2 separate regions of the Homo sapiens genome follow, and region 2 is linked to region 1. Evidence: promoter capture Hi-C in 16 types of primary human blood cells and fetal thymus (Javierre and others, 2016). All regions are on one chromosome and are shown on one strand. The core of a region is centred on a gene start or on the middle of the fragment in contact, and the rest is flanking DNA. Distances in the headings are between cores, read along the strand shown.

Region 1 (4,919 bases), core at 1,150-3,649:
GCTTGTCCCAATAACCCACGGCAGCCCATGGCTGTGGAGAAACCCTTGCACTGCTCACTATTGTTGAAGAACTAGAGTACCCTCTGCAGGGAGAGCAGAGCTCACTCTGAGTGCTGGGGACCCTGGAAGTACAGCAATCCAGGATACATGCACCCCATCCTGGCTCCAACCTGGGTTACATACACCCCACCCCAACTCCAACCTGGAGTATATGCATCCCATCCCAGCTCCAACCTGCGGTACATACATCCCACTCCAATTCTATCCTGGGTTACATACACCATACCCCAGCTCCAACCTGGAGTACATACATCCCACCCCAACTCCAACCAGGGGTACATACGCCCCACCCCGACTCCTACCTGGGGTATATACACCCCACTCCAACTCCAACCTGGGGTACATACATCCCACCCCAATTCTATCCTGGGTTACATACACCCCACCCCAACTCCAACCTGGGGTACATGCACCCCACCCTGCCTCCAACCTAGGGTACATACAGCCCACCCCAACTCCAACCTGGGTTACATACACCCTACTCTGGCTCCAAGCTATGGTACATACACCCCACCCTGGCTCCAACCTAGGGTACATACACCCTACTCCAACTCCAACCTGGGTTATATACACCCCACCCTGGCTCCAAGCTGTGGTACATACACCCCATCCAGCTCCAACCTGGGGTACATGCATTCCACCTGGCTCCACCCGGGGAGCACCTGGCTCCCTGAGGGCCGGGAGGTGACACACAGCTGAGGAGTGCTGTGTGATTTATATAATCTCTCTCCTCCATGAGGCTCCCTGTCCCCATCTCACAGGTTTGGAAACAGGTCCATGGAGGGGTGTGATTTACCCAGTCACTCAGTGGGTCAGCATCAAGGAACCCAGTGTGCTTTCAGCTCCTACACAGTGACTTCTACCCAGGCCCCCCGTCACAGGAGAGGGGCCTCCGCTAAAGATAAGGAGATAAGATTAGGAGGGCTCAGGCCATCAACTGGAGCTTGTGAAAGGGGTTGCCGAAGAGAGGTGGTTGTTTCAAGAGCAACGGTTGGGCTGGTAACATTGCTGTGGGAGGAGGAGGCTGTGGAAGGCACCGGGCAGGGTTTCGGTAGGGTGTGGGGGTGGGGGAGGAGAAAGGACACTTGGAACAGCCTCCCTGGGAGTCTGGAGCAGGCACGGGGTCCACACTGAAGAAGGAATGGACGTGTCCTCCTGAAGAAGGGGCGAGGACACGCAGGCTGCTGGCCACAGTGGTGGTGACTCTGGAACTGTCTCAGGGATGAGCATGTGCTCTCCAGGCAGCCGGGATGAGGTCAGAGGCAAAGGATGAACCTGGCTCATCCAGGGCAGGGAACTACAGGAGGAAGGCTTAGGTGCAGAGAGGGTGGGCCCTGGCAGAAGGCCGACTGGGATGCACTCTGCACTTAAGGTGGAAATGGAGGCGCACTTAAGGTGGAAATGGAGGCTCACCCAAGGTCACGAAGCTAGTGACAGGGCTGGATTCAATCCAGGCCAATCAGACCCTGGTGCAGCACACTGCCTCTAAAGAAGCTACTTCTCACCAAGCCCAATAGGAACTCATAATTGAAATCTACTTCTCAGAGTAAACCTACTACTGATTGGCACCTAAGAAACTCCAAGAGAATAAAGCCCATGGCGGGCGCTTACTTTTAGGCTCTGCAGCAGCTCACTGGGCTGGGTGTTTTACCTGTGACATCTCGCCATGTCCCCAAAATGGCCCCATGAGGGATTTCACTGCCAGGCCCTGCCTCAGTCACAGCCTCACACTCTCCCTGGCACCTTGGAGGGAGTGAGTAGGGCTAGGGGATAAGGAGAGGGGCCAAATCATTCATCACAGATCATTCATTCACTCAACAAACACCTGCTAAGCACATACTAAATGCTGGGCTTTGAGCTGGGTATGGGGGGTGTGTATAACAGTAAGGCAGATTCAGTTTCTGCCCTGTTGCAGGAGGAGAGGCACCCTTCCAATCATCTGGCCCAACTCTCATTCTAGGGATGTGAAAACTGAGGCCTGGAGAGGGAAAGTGGCTTGCCCAAGGCCATGCAGCCAGGCGGTGGCGACTGAGGTGCACCGCTCCTGTCAGCCAACAAATATCCATTGAGCGACACCTGTGTCCCAGGTGCTGCTCTGGGCCCTGGGAGAAGTGCATCAGTGGGCTTGGTAGTAGAGGGTAGGGATGGAGTGAAGGGTAGGCAGGAAGAATGTCCCCAGGCTGGTAGGAGGTGGGGTGGGGGGTTTCAGTCTCAAAACTCCCATGAAAACCAGAGAGAAGTTTCAGAACTCCACCCAAGAGGCTGGGTTTCTAGGGCCCAGAGCTGCCCTCCCCCACCCTAGAATGGGCTATAAAAGTCCCTTCCCAGCTACGTCCAGAGAAGAGCTGGAGGAAGTGAGAGGTCGGCTGGGGGTCCTCAAAGTGAGAGGGGAGCAGAGGATCCTCCCGTGCAGGCTGTGGATGTCACTCACTTCCCAGCTGGTGAAGCCTCGCTGCAGAGATGCATCTGCTCCCAGCCCTGGCAGGGGTCCTGGCCACACTCGTCCTCGCCCAGCCCTGTGAGGGCACTGACCCAGGTAATAGTCCCCTAGACAGGCAAGGAGGAGGGAGGGGAAATGGAAGGGGAAGCACTTGGGTCTTGGAGGGGGTCTTGTGGCTTGCTGAACCCTGAGTCCCCATCTCTTTGAACAGCCTCCCCTGGGGCAGTGGAGACCTCGGTCCTGCGAGACTGCATAGCAGAGGCCAAGTTGCTGGTGGATGCTGCCTACAATTGGACCCAGAAGAGGTGGACTTGGGTCTGGGGGCTGCATGGGCCTGGGAGGATCAGTGAGGGGCATGGGCCCCAGCCAAGTTCATCTCACTCATCAGCCACCTCTGGACCCCATGAACATTTCCTGTTGGTAGAGCCTCCCTTCCATCCATCCTTCTGTCCGCTTGCCCTGTCCTGACTGTGCCCCAGGACTGGGTCTCTGCTGGGTGGGTCTGCACCCTCTCTCCAGCCCTCACTCCTCCTCTCCTGGGCAGCATCAAGCAGCGGCTTCGCAGCGGTTCAGCCAGCCCCATGGACCTCCTGTCCTACTTCAAACAACCGGTAGCAGCCACCAGGACAGTTGTTCGGGCCGCAGATTATATGCATGTGGCTTTGGGGCTGCTTGAAGAGAAGTTACAACCCCAGCGGTCCGGACCCTTCAATGTCACTGGTACTCTGATCCCCACTGAGCCCGCTGGGCCTACCCTGGCCTGGAGTAGAAGGAATCCAGGAGAGGGAGGCAGGGTGCACAGGTTTGGGGTGCTGGGAGGAGAGAGGGTAAAGGGATGGGAGGTACAGAGCAGGCCAGCTCAGGTCTGCCCATTTGCCTTCCCACAGATGTGCTAACAGAACCACAGCTGCGGCTGCTGTCCCAGGCCAGTGGCTGTGCTCTCCGGGACCAGGCCGAGCGCTGCAGCGACAAGTACCGCACCATCACTGGACGGTGCAACAACAAGTGCGTGCGGGGCGGCAGGAGGGGCTGCCCCTGCCTGGGGGACCTCTCCCTTCCTGCACCCACCCTCTCCCTCCATGCTGAGCCATCTCCAGGCCCTGCCCCCTGCTAACCTATCCCACCCATGGCTGCAGGAGGAGACCCTTGCTAGGGGCCTCCAACCAGGCTCTGGCTCGCTGGCTGCCCGCCGAGTATGAGGATGGGCTGTCGCTCCCCTTCGGCTGGACCCCCAGCAGGAGGCGCAATGGCTTCCTTCTCCCTCTTGTGAGTTGGGGCTGAGGGTTTGGGAGGTTGCTTGATCTCTTAAATGCGGGGAGTAAAACACAGCCCAGAGTCACGCAGGCAGGGCTTGAACCCAGGCCCTTCCACTGACCAGTGCAGTGACTTGAGGCAAATAACACAGCTTTCTGAGGCTTAGTTTCCTCATCTGTAAAATGGCCCTAAAACCTACCTCGTAGAGCCTGTGTGGATATTGAAGTCCTTGGTATAAATAGCTATAGAGGACATGATCTATTCATGCTAACCATTACGGTGTTGTACGGTTTTTTCTGAGAAAATTAGTGTCAAAGTCTTGCTAAATATAAACAGCTCTATACCTTAATCTGGCTTTATCTATTGATCTATTTCACATTTATCAACTCATCAGTTTTCTATTGATATATCGATAGAGCAGTCTATCATCTACCCATCTATCAACATCTATTAATTAATTTTCTTCTATCCACCCTTCCATCTGCTGACCCCGTACTCCCTACGTGTATTATCCATCACCTGGCAACCAGCCCATGCACCTGTGAATCCGTGCTATCATCTGGTTAGCTATCAGTGTACAAATTGATCTATCTATTTGATCTCCCTTCCCCTCTGGGAGAGCTGGTGAGGTCTGAGCCAGTCAACCTAGCCCCTCTCCTTCTCTTTACCACCGGAATCCTCAGGAGCCCAGCCAGAAACCATCCTTCTAGGAATGAGAGCAGGAGGTGGCTACGCCTCCAGGGACAAAAGGGGCATGGAGGGCAGAAGAGGAGAGGCTGTCAATTCCAGCAGGGGAGCTGCTGCTCCCTGAGTCCTGGGTTGGCTCTAATACCTTGTGGGGTCAGGGAGCCCATGTCCCGTGCTGATGTTATTTCCCCACCAGGTCCGGGCTGTCTCCAACCAGATTGTGCGCTTCCCCAATGAGAGACTGACCTCCGACCGTGGCCGAGCCCTCATGTTCATGCAGTGGGGCCAGTTCATTGACCATGACCTGGACTTCTCCCCGGAGTCCCCGGCCAGAGTGGCCTTCACTGCAGGCGTTGACTGTGAGAGGACCTGCGCCCAGCTGCCCCCCTGCTTTCCCATCAAGGTACCTACCCTCAGCCAATCTCCCATGCCCTTGTGTGGCCTCCCCCAAAGGCAAGGTGCTGGGGGTGGGGATCTG
Region 2 (4,977 bases), core at 409-2,908, 240 kb after region 1:
TCCATATTCCTCATTTTGCAGATGAGGACACCAAAGCTCAGTTAGGTAAACACGTCCAAGGTCACACAGTAAAGAGCAGAATCCAGGTTTTAATGCAGGTTTTTCTAACACCAAAAGCTTTCTTTCTAACCATATGCTGTACTGTTTTTAATGAGCAGTATATTAATCTCACACATTGACTTTGGTTAAGGTCTCTTAATGCCATGGGACCTTACATATAGCCATGTTTTCATAGACCAACTGCTAGGCCAAGGTCTATCAGAGCAGAATCATTTGCAACTTCATGAATTGTATTTCTGCCTACACTTTAATTAAAAAACTTTTTTTTTTTTTAGCAGAGAGGTTCTAGCTTAATCATAACTCATTTTCCTCTTGTCCATAATAAAATGAAAATGTGATTAGGTGTCATAATGATGCCAAGATTTCACAACTCTTATGTTTCACAGCAGGAAGCCAACATCAATTAAGACTCATCTATTAACTGCACTGACCAAAGGATAAGGCTTTACTTAGAAAAAAAAAACAACAGGAAGAGTTAATAAAGATAATTACTGTGCTAATTATTTTATCAGTTACACTTATAACCATAACATGTAGTGAAAGAGAGGAAATTATTTTTTTAACAGCAGGCACCAGAGTTCCTCTCAGGGAGGTAATTGTCTTTGTTGAGGAATATGTCTCGATAGATTGTTCTGGTTGGGAAAAATGACGCCTTAAAAACATCAAAAAATAGAAGAGATACCTAACCTTCTTTGCCTAAGTAAAACACAGGAATTCAGCACCTGGGGAAAGAGCAGAAAAAAAAAACCAACCATAACAACAACAACAACAGAAAGCAGAGAAACGAAGGTCTGGTGCTAGTACAAGGAAAGAAAGCAACATGGCAGAGGACCATATTGACTAGTGACAAGGAAAGATGCCGTAAAGTGACTGGGGGCCTTTTAATTCCATTTTTGCGGTATTCTAAATATTTCTGTCGGTATTTCTGCCTCCCGACATCTTCATAAAAGTGTGCTACACATACACATGCCTAGCATAATGCTTAAAGGGAGGAAGAGGTCAAAGAAAGTGGGCCAAGTTCTGCATCTGGTATAGCATGGAACAGACAGATAAGAACAGCCCTGGGAGGTCAGATATGGACAAGTCTGGAATTACATTTAAGCAGAAACTCAAAAATAAAAGCTACTGTGAACCCTAGAAAGTCTCAGAAATCTTAGAAAGGCATTCTTGGTATAGGGTAAGTTTATCTTGAGTCAATCATATCTAAACCTCAAAAGTCAGTTTACTATCTGGGATATAAATATTTTTTAAAAACACTCTGAAATTGTTCATTTCTATTACTTTAAGGCTTTTATATTCCTGCTATAGGAACACTTCAAGTATTTAAACTACTTTTAGTATTTTTAGATTTTTTAAAATTTGAAAAACATAGAAGAATACAGATGGTGAAAATTTCCCGTAATCCTATTATATATACATATACAAATTGAGAAGTTAAGCATACCCCTGCACCCATACATTCTATCTTCTGAGAGATAACTAGTGTTATATTTATCAGCTATATCGTATATCTCCAGACTTTTTTCTATAATTTTACAGCATATACTTTCTTTTCTTTCTTTCTAGAAAGGGGGTTGTGCTAGACATATTGTGTTGCAACTTACCCATTTGCTGAACACATTATGAACACTTACTGTCTTTCCAGGTCACAACACATCAAGCTACTTCAGTTTCTTAAATGGTTGCACAGTATTTTATTATGTAGATGTCATAATGTATCTGGTTCCCCACTGTCAGGCATTTATGCTTTTCTCAAATTTTTGCTATTATAAATAACACTATAGCAAACTTATTTTGAGTACCTTTGGGAATATACACATTTCTACAGGAGAGATTCCCAGGAGTAGAGTTCCTGAGTCAAAACTCATAAGCATTTTAGTTATCTATAAATAATGCCAATTGTCCTTTATAGGGCTATACGAATTTACATTCCAATTACAGCATAGAGAAGGTTCCTTTTCTCTATACCTTTATCAAAGCTGGATATTATCAACAGTTAAAGTTTTGCCAATCAAATTGCCAAAAAAAAAAATAATTGGTTGATTTTGGTCAGTGACAGACCATATAGATGATGATGATTCTGTAAGATTGTACTCTATTTTTACTGTACCATTTCTATGCTTAGCTATGTTTAGATACACAAATACCACTGTATTACAATTGCTTACAATATTCAATACAGTAACATGCTGTAAGGGTTTGTAGCCTAGAAGCAATAGGCTATACTATACAGCCTAGGTATGTAGTAGGCAACATCATCTAGGTTTGTGTAAGTACAATTCACAATGTTTATAAAACAATAACATTAACTAATGACATAGTTCTCAGAATACATTCCTGTCATTAAGGGATACATGATTATATGTGCTACTGGCTTTGCAGTCAGGCAGCACATGGTTAGGACACAGCAAGCTAGAATGTTGGTGATCTTTGTTATCCATGCCAACATATTTGGTAAAATCATTACCTGTGACACCATGGAAGTCAGACCACACATGCCAAGTGAACATACAACCATGGGGGAAAAGATTGACAAAAATCACAAGGTGTTGACTATTTCTTGACACATTCAGCAAAGCCCTAAAAGAAGAGATAAACTCAGGCTAGAGGTACCTAGTGTGCAAGCAGAGATGGAAGGGAATATTTGACTGCCTGTGGTTGACAACTTATTGACTAGAGTTCAGTAACTGGGTCATGAATCCAACTGCTTCAATACCCCAACCTGAAGTTGCACTAAGAAGTGCCTTAAGGCCAGGCATGGTGGCTGACACCTGTAATCCCAGCACTTTGGGAGGCTAAGTTGGGAGGATTGCTTGAGACCAGGAGTTGGAGATCAGCCTGGGCAACACAGTGAGACTCCATCTCTTTGAAAAGTAAAAAAAAATCAGCTAGGTGTGGTGGCATGTGCCTGTAGTCCCAGCTACTTCTTTGGGGGGTTGGGGGTAGGTTGGTTGAGGTGGGAGGATCACTTTAGCCCAGAGATCAAGGCTGCAGTGAGCTATGATCGTGCCAGACTAGGCAACAGAGTGAGACCCTGCCTCAAAAAAAAAATAATAATAAATAAAAAAAATTGGTGGTACATGCTGATTAACATTAAGCTAAGCCCAACAGTTGACAAATCTTGTCAACAGAGCTTCTGTAAGCTTTTTAATGCTCCATTCTTGAATAGGGAAGAAAGCCAATGGAAAAAAAAAACAAAAACAACAACAACCAAAAAAAAAAACCAGAAAGAACGTAGAGGAAACTGACATATGTTGTGGGGAAACAACTTCAAAACCAGCCCTTCCATTTAGTATCCTCAGAGAGCTATAAGAAGATATTATATCCATATAAAAGAACAGCAAGTTCCCCCAAAAAGGAACAATTATAGAATAGAATAAAAAAGAGCTGTTAGAAGTTATAATTTTTTTTTTTTTGAGACGGAGTTTTGCTCTTGTTGCCCAGGCTAAAGTGCAATAGCGCGATCTCGGCTCACTGCAACCTCCACCTCCCGGGTTCAAGCAATTCTCCTGCCTTAGCCTCCTGAGTAGCTGGCATTACAAGCATGCGCCACCATGCCCAGCTAATTCTGTATTTTCAGTAGAGACGGGGTTTCACCATGTTGGTCAGGCTGGTCTGGAACTCCCAACCTCAGGTGATCCGCCCGCCTTGGCCTCCCAAAGTGCTGGGATTACAGGCATGAGCCACCATGCCCAACTGGAAATTATAAATTTAGTAGCCAAATTTTTAAAATTAAACATTTGAAAGTTTCATCTGAGGAACATTCCACAAAATAGAAAAAAGATAAAAGTATAACAAAATTGAAAGAAAAAAACAGAGAGAGAAGTTCATCTCAGCATATCCAATACTGGACTAAAGAAAAAATAGGAAAAATGGAAGGGTAAAGAGGTAAGAATTTTTTTTTTTAATGATATGACCACTTCTGGTAATGTCAGGCCTGATAATTAAGACCAGCTTTCCTATTGAAGACAACTAAAAAACCTGGACAGATGATAGAAACAATATTCTTTAAAAGTCTCAAAAGGTAATGAGATAGTAAAGAATGACTGGGCTGAGTGTCAGGTGAGAGTGGGGATCCAGAGAGTAAGCCTTGTATTTGAGGCTACTTTTACCTTTGTGACATTTGCCATCTGTAGGAGATTGAGAGGCTGAGCTTTGCCTTTTGGGTCTAGAGGGACAAATGTCAGAGACTGGGCTTGTCAAAGGTTGAGTTCTGATGAGATTCCCACTTTTATGGCTAGGATCTCAATAAGCTGCACCCAGGAGAGGATGAACCACAGGGAAACAAGCCCTTGCACAGTTTGTGGTCAGAAAAATCTCAGGCTCTGAACTGGATTAAGGTGATCCCTAATTGCCAGTGACCCCAATTGCCTGGTAGAAACAAATCTTATTTGAGGAAGATAATGTCATCCTAGGCCTTAAATTATTTTTACAAGTAACTTTTCAAATACTATTCTTCAAATACTATGTCCAGCATACAGCGAAAATAACCAGTTACATGAGGGAGTAGCCACTGTGGTTGAGAACCAACACAAATGAGACAACTGAAAGAGACCTGTGGAAACTCCATATACTGGAATTACCAGAATTCAGCAAGAAAACAACCATGCTTACTATTTCAAGGAGGCAAATTCCAAGCTTGAAAAATTTTGGCAGATAACTAGAAACTCAAAAATGTGACCAGAGGTCTGGAAAAAAGAACAAACAGAAATCCTAGAATTGAAAAATAATCAAATTAATAACTCAGTGGATGAGTCAAACAGCACATTAGACCTAGTCTCAGAGAAAGAGTGAACATGAAGGTAGAAGAAATAACTCAAAAAGGAAATGTGGAGGAAAAAAATATGAGAGGTTTAAAAAAATTAAGACATAGGGAATTCAGGGAATAGGAAAGATGTGAACAACATAATCAACACT

The links. The method cuts DNA at HindIII sites, captures the fragments that hold promoters and counts their contacts. A CHiCAGO score of 5 or more calls a contact.
Region 2: a contact is called between a fragment that was not itself captured here and the fragment with the promoter of EPX in region 1, in 4 of 17 cell types (M2 macrophages, M0 macrophages, monocytes and 1 more). The highest score is 12.5, in M2 macrophages.

Annotation. Positions count from the first base shown.
Region 1 is chr17:58,190,327-58,195,245 of GRCh38, forward strand. It overlaps EPX (eosinophil peroxidase), which reads left to right and starts at 2,400. Exons shown (of 13, transcript NM_000502.6): 1 at 2,400-2,596; 2 at 2,712-2,805; 3 at 3,045-3,220; 4 at 3,388-3,505; 5 at 3,637-3,766; 6 at 4,638-4,844. The coding sequence starts at 2,521. The HindIII fragment of the contact is 9,173 bases long and covers 1-4,919 here.
Region 2 is chr17:58,436,026-58,441,002 of GRCh38, forward strand. The region is part of intron 5 of HSF5 (heat shock transcription factor 5); the gene reads right to left. Among named protein-coding and RNA genes, the nearest start is that of RNF43, 21 kb to the left of the region's middle. The HindIII fragment of the contact is 3,086 bases long and covers 116-3,201 here.